3 separate regions of the Homo sapiens genome follow, and all the other regions are linked to region 3. The links are contacts of gene promoters, found by promoter capture Hi-C in blood cells and fetal thymus (Javierre and others, 2016). All regions are on one chromosome and are shown on one strand. The core of a region is centred on a gene start or on the middle of the fragment in contact, and the rest is flanking DNA. Distances in the headings are between cores, read along the strand shown.

What was found. Contacts are between HindIII fragments. The CHiCAGO score rates a contact against its expected background, and 5 or more counts as called.
Region 1: a contact is called between the fragment with the promoter of SLC37A4 here and the fragment with the promoter of KMT2A in region 3, in 2 of 17 cell types (non-activated CD4 T cells and naive CD4 T cells). The highest score is 5.9, in non-activated CD4 T cells.
Region 2: the fragment with the promoter of HMBS here is called in contact with the fragment with the promoter of KMT2A in region 3 in 2 of 17 cell types (non-activated CD4 T cells and activated CD4 T cells); the score reaches 5.7 in non-activated CD4 T cells.

What each region holds. Positions count from the first base shown.
Region 1 is chr11:119,029,627-119,032,920 of GRCh38, reverse strand. SLC37A4 (solute carrier family 37 member 4) reads left to right here and starts at 2,044. Exons shown (of 10, transcript NM_001467.6): 1 at 2,044-2,072. RefSeq lists a silencer at 2,430-2,589. The HindIII fragment of the contact is 18,338 bases long and covers 1-3,294 here.
Region 2 is chr11:119,083,418-119,086,577 of GRCh38, reverse strand. It overlaps HMBS (hydroxymethylbilane synthase), which reads right to left and starts at 1,697. Exons shown (of 14, transcript NM_000190.4): 1 at 1,512-1,697. The coding sequence starts at 1,544. RefSeq lists enhancers at 1,420-1,469, 1,399-2,096. The HindIII fragment of the contact is 13,649 bases long and covers 1-3,160 here.
Region 3 is chr11:118,434,336-118,437,791 of GRCh38, reverse strand. KMT2A (lysine methyltransferase 2A) reads right to left here and starts at 1,300. Exons shown (of 36, transcript NM_001197104.2): 1 at 848-1,300. The coding sequence starts at 1,279. RefSeq lists enhancers at 1-331, 332-1,330, 1,992-2,131, 1,331-2,328 and a silencer at 1,202-1,681. The HindIII fragment of the contact is 8,732 bases long and covers 1-3,456 here.

The DNA of each region.
Region 1 (3,294 bases), core at 795-3,294, 590 kb before region 3:
TAGCTGGGCATGGTGGGGCATGCCTGTAATCCCAGCTACTCGGGAGGCTGAGGCAGGAGAATCGCTTGAACCCCAGAGAAGGAGGTTGCAGTGAGCTGAGATCACTCCACTTCCAAAACAAAACGATAGGGCTGTTAATTTAGGTGGTGGTTACACGGGTATTAACATGTGTAAAAAATCACTGAGTTGTACATGTAAGATTCCTGCACTTTTTGTATTTTATTATGTGTATGTTAAATCTTAAAAATAAAAGCGGAGAAAAACCTGATGGCTTCCTACTCCTCTATTAGGTAAAGTAAGAATCTGCTCTGGTTTGGTTTCGGAGGAACTGTTTCCTGGTCCTTGGATCTACCTGGCTGAAAGCACAGTGCCTGGTACAAACTAGGCTCCTCCCCGATTTTGAATTAACGAAGTTCAGTGACATCGTCATCCTATTTTTTTTTTTTTTTTTTTGAGACAGGCTCTCGCTCTGTCACCCAGGCTGGAGTGCAGTGGCACGATCTCGGCTCACTGCAACCTCTGCTTCCCAGGTCCAAGAAATTCTCCTGCCTCAGCCTCCCCAGTAACTGGGATTACAGGCGTGTGCCACCAAGCCTGGCTAATTTTGGTATTTTTAGTAGAGACAGGGTTTCACCATGTTGGCCAGGCTGGTCTCGAACTCCTGACTTCAAGTGATCTGCCCGCCTTGGCCTCCCAATGTGCTGGGATTACAAGCATGAGCCATCGCGTCCGGCCTGTCATCCTATTTTATCTCATCTCCTCCTCCTCCCTTCCCTGACCATCTTCTCTGGAGTAAAAGATCTTTGCTCTCAATTTTGGAACACTTACAATTCCTTCAGCCACTCTTGTTAGGAAGATATAAGGGAAGAGAGCGAGAGACAGGAGGCAACTCAACGGCCAAACAGGTTTATTCACAGGAATAAGCCTGCAAGGAGTTCCAGTCAGGAGTCTGGCTGAGACCCTGATCGCTTACAAGCTGAGGCTTTTATAATATCGTTTCTATTGGGGAGAGGTCGGGAAGTGCTGGCTGATTGGGACTGTTGGGGACTTTGTTAGGCTATGTTACCTTCTGTTGAAGCTATGGGCAGGGTTAACATTTGCTCTGTTTCTGAGAACACAGTCATCATTGTTGTAAAATAGCATCACTACTGTTACTCCTCACAACTCTTAACTGGGATCAGTGAAAACCATTGTTGTTGAGAACTCTTATAGAATTTCTGAGCTCTTATCTAAATCATCTGTTGAGTCTTCACAATGATCTACCAGGCTGGTAGGAAACGGGAGCTCATAGAGATTAACCAAGGTCATACAGTTAGAATGCTGTGGGTCTAGGACTAGAATTTGATATTTACTCCAGGCCCCGTCTCTGTCCCCAACAATCTAACCACAAGTTAAAATTCCAAATTGTGGGCTGGGCGCGGTGGCTCACGCCTGTAATCCCAGCACTTTGGGAGGCCGAGGTGAGCGGATCACGAGGTCAGGAGATCGAGACCATCCTGGCAAACACGGTGAAACCCCGTCTCTACTAAAAATACAAAAAATTACCCGGGCGTGGTGGTGGGCGCCCGTAGTCCCAGCTACTCGGGAGGCTGAGGCAGGAGAATGGTGTGAACCCGGGAGGAGGAGCTTGCAGTGAGCCGAAATCGCGCCACTGCACTCCAGCCTGGGCGACTGAGCGAGACTGTTTCAAAAAAAAAAAAAAAGAAAAAAAGAAAATACTGTGTGTTCCTACAACACCTTTCCCAGACTGTGAGCAACTTGGGAACAATGATTATCACCTTAGTGTTCGGTGTGTTTTGTAGAGGAGGGCACTCACTAAAAACTGGTTTGTTGAATGCAACCACTTAAGAATTGGACATGCCGTGCCCAGCCCCTAAGGGGCGCTATGCTCGTTCGTCCAAGGAGCAGCGTGACCAGCGGGAGGGAGTAAGTCGACGTCCCCGGCATGTGGGGCGGGGAACTCCACTGGCCGGCAAGCGAAGCAGCAGGCGAAGACCACGCCCCCGCCGGCCGCGCTTGCGCAGCCTTCGCTAGCCCCGCCCCGTCCTATTCGGGCTCCCGCCTCTGTTCAGGTAGGAGGCGGTATGCGGGGGAGGGGAGTCACCTGAGGGCGGGGATCTCAGGTCTTGGGGAGCCATTGTTGGCGAACCCCAACTTCCGATACGACCCGGAGCTGTTCCTGCAGTTCCAGAGACAATTCATGGGTCTTGGGGCCACCGAGGCGCTGTCCCTGACCACCAGCACGAGACCCCTTTCTATCGCGCCAGTCCTGTGGTCTCCGCACCTCTCCAGCTCCTGCACCCCCGGCCCCCGTGGTTCCCAGCCGCACAGTAGCGTGTCCTGGGTAGCGTGAGGACCCACGGGGCTGGGCAGGTGCCACGAGCCCGCCGCCTCTTCGCCGCCCGCCGCCTCTCCTCCTCTCCCGCCCGCCGCCTGGCCCTCCCCTACCAGGCTGAGCCTCTGGGTGCCAGAAGCGCGGGGCCTCCGGGAGAATACGTGCGGTCGCCCGCTCCGCGTGCGCCTACGCCTTCTGCTCCAGTTGCTTTCCCAATTGAGCGGAAAAGCCGGGGCATGTTGCCGGGGCCCTGGGCGGGACGGTTGTGCCCTGCAGCCCGAAGCCCGCCGGGGCACCTTCCCGCCCACGAGCTGCCCAGTCCCTCTGCTTGCGGCCCCTGCCAACGTCCCACAGGTTGGAAACCAGACCCTGCAGCCCCCAGCTAGCCCGAAGGAAGCCCAGACTGACGTCGCAGGGTAATGGGGACCCAGAGGTAGCTCTGTGGGGCCCCATCAGGACCTCAGCCCTTAGCGGGGCTTTCTGTGTGACACCGTGGGACCTGAACTGGGGAGGTCCCCCTTGCACAGAATTACAAGGGGCAACTGTAGGAAACAATTAAATCTATTATGTGCTAAGTATTGAGAGTTCCACGGATTGAGGCCCTCTCTAGAAGGCTTAGAAGTGGGGTAGCCGGGGTATGTGTCTGACTTTGTGTTTTGGTGCGGTGGTGGTGAGTGGGTGTAGAAACTAATAGTGCCAAGTGCAGTGCCTGTCAACTAGTAAGTTAATAAACCTTCCGTGAATGAATGAGAAGGTTCTGTGACTGAGGGAGCAGGGCTAGAGAGGGCATCTCTGCTCATCCCACCCCTGCCTCCCCTGGGCTCAGGCAGACAAAAGTAATTAGGTTGAACCTTTAATCAAAGCTGGTTTCACAGGCAAGCAGACATGATAGAGGAGGTAAAGGCAGAAATCCTGGGGACACAGGGTGCTGGCCTGGCTCACAGGCATGCCTCCTTCCG
Region 2 (3,160 bases), core at 448-2,947, 650 kb before region 3:
CAAGCGATTCTCCTGTCTTAGCCTCCCAAGTAGCTGGGACTACAGGCGCATGCCACCACGTCGGCTAATTTTTTGTATTTTTAGTAGAAACGGGGTTTCACTGTGTTCCCTAGGCTGGTCTCGAACTCCTGAGCTCAGGCAATCCACCTGCCTCGGCCTCCCAAAGTGCTAGGATTACAGGCATGAGCCACTGTGCCCGGCCTAATTTTTATATTTTTAGTAGAGACGGGGTTTCACCATGTTGGTCGGGGTGCTATGGAGTTCTTTTGCACCCAGACATCTGGGGCCTCTATTGCCGAAGCAGGTGACAGCTTTCTGCCCTCAGACTCTGGTCTACTCCATGTGATCACTCCAATAAATTAACCCTGGGAGACCCTTTGCAAATTAGGCTAGGCTTGATATTAAACGTGGCCACCAAAATTCTGGGCCACAGGGAGCCCACAGAAAGGACTCTAAGGTCCCAGAACTACTAGGTTCAAACAATTCCTTAAGTTCATTGAATGTGCACAGCATATCCAAGTCAAACCGTTTCATTAAAAAATAAAACACTGAGCACTTCTATGTTGAAGCTATTGCTTTTGCATATTGTTGTCGTCTCAAAAATCCTATCAGGTGGACAAGACAGGCACCTTTGGGACCATGTTACAGAAGCAACGGGTGGCATCAAGGGATGAGGTGACTTGCCTAGGGTCACAGAGCTAATAACCGAAAGAGAGTTGGGGCCACAATTCAGATCTTCCTACTCCTAGTCCAGGGCTCTGGAATGACTGCAAGAGCAAAGATCCCAGCCCTCACCAACAGGCTGGACAGGGGGAGATTAGCAGCTCCCCATCTCTTTCTTATCTCGGCCTGGCAGTGGCCTCCACCAGCTCTGCAGTTTGTCTGTGCACAAGCCCAGGGCTCGGCAAGCAGGCTCGTAATGGAAAGGCCCACGGCGGCCTCCCACCCACGGTAGTAATTCAGTAGGTGTGTCACAGCTGGGGACTTGGAGCGTTGGCTGTGGCTGGGAGACCACTATAACACAAAAAGAAGGCGCACTTCTAAGACGTTTGTGTGCAGTTCGGAGGCTTGGCTGATACTCTCTCCTATGAATCAAAAGTGGAACGTGTCTTCCCAAAGGGGCCGTATCTGCATCCGCCTCAGCCCAGCCTCGAATGAAAGGACCCCGTCTGTGTAGACGAACGTTCTTGGTCTGGGTCACTAAATCTAGAGCCGTGCATCCCAGGCCTGATGGGAATCCCACCCAGATGCCCGCAGGGACCGGAGTTCCGTTCCAAACAATCCTTCCACTCTTAACCCAGTATCACCGCTCTCTGATTTCCCCATTCCTTCCGGAGGGCAACCGAGCTACTGGCCCTTTAAAAGCTACTCGGACCAAAAAAAAAAAAAAAAAAAAAAAAAAAAAGATAGCCGTTCTGACCAATAGACGACTGAGGATGGCAACCTGGGGCCAATCGCTGCACGGCTCGTCCAGAAGCCCAAAGTGTGCTGGTCACCGGCTCAGCACTCACCGCCGTTGCAGCCGCATTGCCGTTACCAGACATGGCTCCGCTTGGAAAGTAGGCTGTGTGTGGGTGCCGCTAAGGTCCCCCGGCCCCGGGAAGCCGGGGGCTCCGGCCGGCGAGTACCGGGGACACGTGGGACCCGAGGTCGTCCTACAGTCTGACTCCTGGTCTCCGCAGAGCCTCGCGTCACTTCCGGCGCCCTCCCTCGAAGGGGAGGTCCCTCCCTCTGGGCGGGAATTGGAACATTGCGACAGTGGACCTCCCCATTCGACCACCCCATTCCCCAGCTGTGACATGAGCAAGTAGTGCAGCTTCTATGGCGCTTCCTTTGCTCTGTTCAAACTTAGCTTTGCTACAACCTTGAAATAGGCAGCATTTTTCTTTTTGATACGGGGTCTCACTGTGTCCCCAGACTAGAGTGCAGCGGCATGACCACGGGTCACTGCAGCCTTGACCTCCCGGCTTCAGCGATCCCCCCACCTCAGCCTCCCAAGCAGCTGGGACTACAGGCGCACATCACCACGTGGGACTAATTTCTAGATTTTTTTATAGAGACAGCGGGGAGGTGGCCTCACTATGTTGCCCAGGCTAGTCTCGAACTCCTGGACTCAAGCAGTCATCTCGCCTTGGCCTCCCAAAGTGCTGGGATTACAGGCGTGAGCCACTGGCCCAGCCAGCATTTCAATTCTTAAAATGAGGAAACTGGTTCAGAGAGATTAAAGGTCATGCCTAAAGACAAGTAACTGAAGTGGGAGCACAAACGCTACATGTAGTGAGAAAAGGGCTTGTTAGGAAAAGTGCTTTCCCATGAACATAATTTTTTTTTTTTTTTTGAGACGGAGTTTCGCTCTTGTTGCCCAGGCTGGAATGCAATGGCACGATCTCAGCTCACTGCAACCTCCGCCTCCCGGGTTCAAGCAATTCTCCTGCCTCAGCCCCCCGAGTAGCTGGGATTACAGGCACGCACCACCACACCCAGCTAATTTTGTATTTTTGGTAGAGATGAGGTTTCTCCATGTTAGTCAGGCAGGTCTTGAACTCCTGACCTCAGGTGATTCGCCCACCTCGGCCTCCCAAAGTGCTGGGAGTACAGGCGTGAGCCACCGCGCCTGTAATCATGAACATAATTAACAATCATGATTATTAATAATCACCCAGCTAGGTGCAGTGGCTCACACCTATATTCCCAGCACTTTAGGAAGCCAAGGCAGGAGGATTGCTTGAGCCCAGGAGTTTGAGACCACCCTGGGCAACATGGTGAAAACCTCATCTCCACAAAAAATACAAAAATAGCCAGGTGTGGCGGCACACACCTGTAGTCCCAGCTATTCAGGAGGCTGAGGTGTGAGGATCGCTTGAGCCCAGGAGGTCGAGGTAGCTGTGAGCTGTGGTGGTGCCACTGCACTCTAGCCTGGATGACAGAGTGAGACGCCCATTTTTTTTTTTTTTTTTTTTTGAGATGGAGTTTCACTCTTGTTGCCCAGGCTGGAGTGCAATGGTGCAATCTCAGCTCACCGCAACCTCCACCTCCCGGGTTCAAGCAATTCTCCTGCCTCACCCTCCTGAGTAGCTAGGATTACAGGCACCTCCCACCACACCCAGCTGGTTTTTGTATTTTTAGTAGAGACGGAGTTTCACCATGTTGGTCAGGCTGG
Region 3 (3,456 bases), core at 51-2,550:
CCAAGATGCCACTAATCCTTCATTCTAAAGGAGGGAAAGGGTGGAGTGAAGGTAGAGTAATTCCCGGCTACCAATAGGCTAGAAACTGTAGCCCTGTAAGACGGGGCGGGGGGGGGAAGAGACTGCTGTATGAGGAATCACCGTTATCTTCAGAGGGAAAGGAGGTGAGACCAGGCAAGGTGCAGAGGAGAGATTTTCCCCGGTGGGGTAGGGCGGGATGGGGGAGGATCGGTCTGCTTGGGGTGGGGGTAGAGGGTGGAGGTGAAGGAAGGGGGAGTGGCTGGCAGTATAGGGACCTGGCCCGGGGATGGCGCGAGGGTTCATCGGGTTTTCGAAAGCAAGGTGCTGGAAGGGACACGATCCCCAAGGGCCAGGAGAACGTGGCCCTGGATGAGGCCATCACCCGAGAGACGCCCGAGAGGAAAACTGCCCTAGGAGTAACACATCTGCCCAGAGAGGGAGGCGGGGATGTGGCGGGATCAGGTCTCTAGGAGGGAGGGAGGGAGGAATCTTGCTCGGATGAGGTAATCTGTGAAAGGGAGGAGGGGTTCAGTCCCGGGATGGGAAACCCCGGCGAGGGGGTCTGTGCCAAGGGATTTGGGGAAGGGTCAGGGGGAGGAGAGCGGGGGGCAAACGCCCTCAGCCAGATGGGCCCAAACCCCGGGGTGGGGGCGCCTGGGGGTCTGCAGCCCTGCATGGGGGTCCCAAGATGGGAGAGCCATTCGCCCCGGGTCAGGGACCCCGAGATGGTCCCAGAATTGGGATGCTCCTCAATCCCGGATGGGGGAGGGGAGGGGGCTCCGCAGAGGGTCGAGACCCCGGACCTGGGGGTTCCTCGCCCCCTTACCTCTCCGCTGCCGCCTCCCCCGCCGCTCTCCCCAAACACGGCCCGGAACCGGCGCAGGTTGGTGCCGATGGCGGCCGAGACCTGCAGCGCCGCGTCGAAGCCCGGGCCCACCCGGAGCAGGGCCGGCCCTGAAGAGGCTGAGGACGATGACGAAGACGAAGACGAGGCGGACGACGAGGAGGCTGCTGAGGCGGCGGCCGCTCCCCCTGGAACCCCAGCCCCGCTGCTTCCCGCCGCCGCCGCCGCGGCCGCCACAGCCGGGGGGGAGGGGGGCGCCCCGGGGCCGCCACCGCCGACCGGGGGCCCGGGGGGAAGCAGCAGGGCCGGGACGCGTTGCCGCGGGGCGCCCCCTAGGCCCCGGCGCCCCCCGCCGCCGCCGCCCCCGGTGGTCCCGGGTCGGGCGGGGAAGCGCCACCGACAGCTGTGCGCCATGTTCGCCCCGTGAAGTGAAGCAGCGAGAGGGAGAGGCGACAACACAGGGGGGCGGGGAGGCGGAGGGGGGGGCACGGGGCCCCGGAACCTGCCTAACCAGCTCTGCGCCGCCCGGCCGCCTGCACCCTGCCGGCCGCTATGCAGAGCGCCGGGCCGCGCCCGCCAGCCCCGCAATCTGTATAGCGGCCTCGGGCCTCCGCCTCTGACGCCTGGGCGCTGCAACTCCATCCCGAGGCCCGGGCCGCCGCCTCCTGCCCGCCCGCCGGCCCCGCAACCTGGATAACTGCATGCCCCGCCCTCCGGGAGAGGCATTGCTCGGGAAAAGGAGGGGGGAAGGAAGCCCGGGAGCCCGGAGCAGAGCGCGGGTTCCGGAGAGAGGGGGAGGGGGCGAGGACTACGCGGAGGATGGAGGCGTAGGGAGCCGGGCCGCCTGCAGCCTTGAGCGCCGAGAGGCCGATTACACACGTTCCCGGGACGCGCTGGGAATCGAACAGCCCGGGAGAGCAGCTTCCAGTATAACGCGGCGGCTGGGTCGGGGAGCAGTGAGCCTTCTCCTCCGCCCCAGGGCACGGATACAAGATGGGTTAGCCCGAATTGAACGCTTCTAGAATAAAAGAGCCCTTATTGTACTACATGCAAAACAGAAGCGCTGCCCAGTTTACTATATGCAAAACAGAAAGGCCCTCAATGAACGCACTTTAAAAAATAAAAAAGGAGCCCCTCCCATTTTCATGCTGGAGCTCTTTCCAAAAAGCACACACCGAGTGGCAGGTCTCCTGCCACCTCCTCGCTCTACTGTGCACTCGTCTGGCTTTCGTGCCCTTCTGCAGGGAGTTGGGTTGTGTTTCTCCAGCCCGGGCACTGAGGCCACGGCGTGCTCCGCTAACGACGCGGTGTTACAACGAAGCTGAAGCTGGGTGGCTAACGGGGCCTGGAGGGAAGAGGCGGGCAAAAGCGCCCCCGCCCCTTCTTCCTCCGGTCTCTGCCTGCCGCTGCATGCAAAGCAGACCCTAATGTATGCACGCAGAGGGAGGGGGGCTCGCGAGCACGTTTCTGATTAAGAGAGGGGGAGGAGGAGAGCGTTGGGCATTATGATACACTGGGTGGAAGGGGCCCGCCGGCGGCGAGCTCTGTGCGCGGGGTTAGTAAGCTGAGGGGGGAGGGGGAAAGAAGGAGGCGAGTTAGGGAGGGGAATGAATATCCACCGGGTTTACTTTATTGCGGGAAAGAGGGGAGGGCGCCTCGAGCATAGCGTTAGACGCCTGCAAGGCTGGGAAAGCCGAGAGGGTAGGGAGGGGTTTGTGTCGGGAGAACTTGCGTTGGCTGAGGCTGGGGGATCGATACACAGCCTGCAGGCCCCGGGGCAGCCTCCATCCCCCAAGCCGAGGGGGAGTTCGCTGGAAGGTCATGCAGCCTTCCTGGACTCCCGCACCGGTACAGCGCACTGCATGTAATATTACAGCCTGGGGCGGCGAATTTGGGAAGGAGGGAGAGGGTCGTTGTGAGCAGGTTGCACTCAGCTCTGGCCCTCCGGAGGGTGCACTTCACGCCTCCAGAGAAGGTCCACAGCCTCCTGGTGCTGAAAACCTACGTCCCTCCACTGGCGAAACATTTGTGCAGAGCGGACGATGGGATGGGGGCTGGAGAGGAGCAATGAAAGGGAGGAGACACAGGCAAGCCTCAACTCCCCCAACTCGTCCCGAATCGATCTTCGTTCCAACCGCGCAGGATGGGGCCCAGATGGTTTGCAAAGCGCACACTCGCACAACGCAATACACAGAACAAGATTCCGTTGTTACAGCGCGTGGTTTACTAGATGCTAAAAGGGTGGGAGTAGCAGGAGGGTCTTAAACGGCAGCCCCAAGGCTCTGCTAAGGACAGAGACACCCCATTGTGGACGGTTTCTCCATTGCAATATATTTAGCGTTGGGCGCTGGGGTTTTTGCTTCAGTGTAGCTGCTCTGATCAGTTACAGATTGGCGACCACGTGGATTCCCTCAAGCATCCTGATTTGTTCGTTCTCTCTCTCTCTCTCTCTCTTTCTCTCTCTCTCTCGTCTCTCTTATTTTTCTTTTGTATTTGCCGCCCCCCCTTCTTTAATATGCATAACGGTCTGCAGAGGTAATAGGCAGGGGACTGAATGACAGGCTTTATATAACTGTGTCAACAGATTTCTT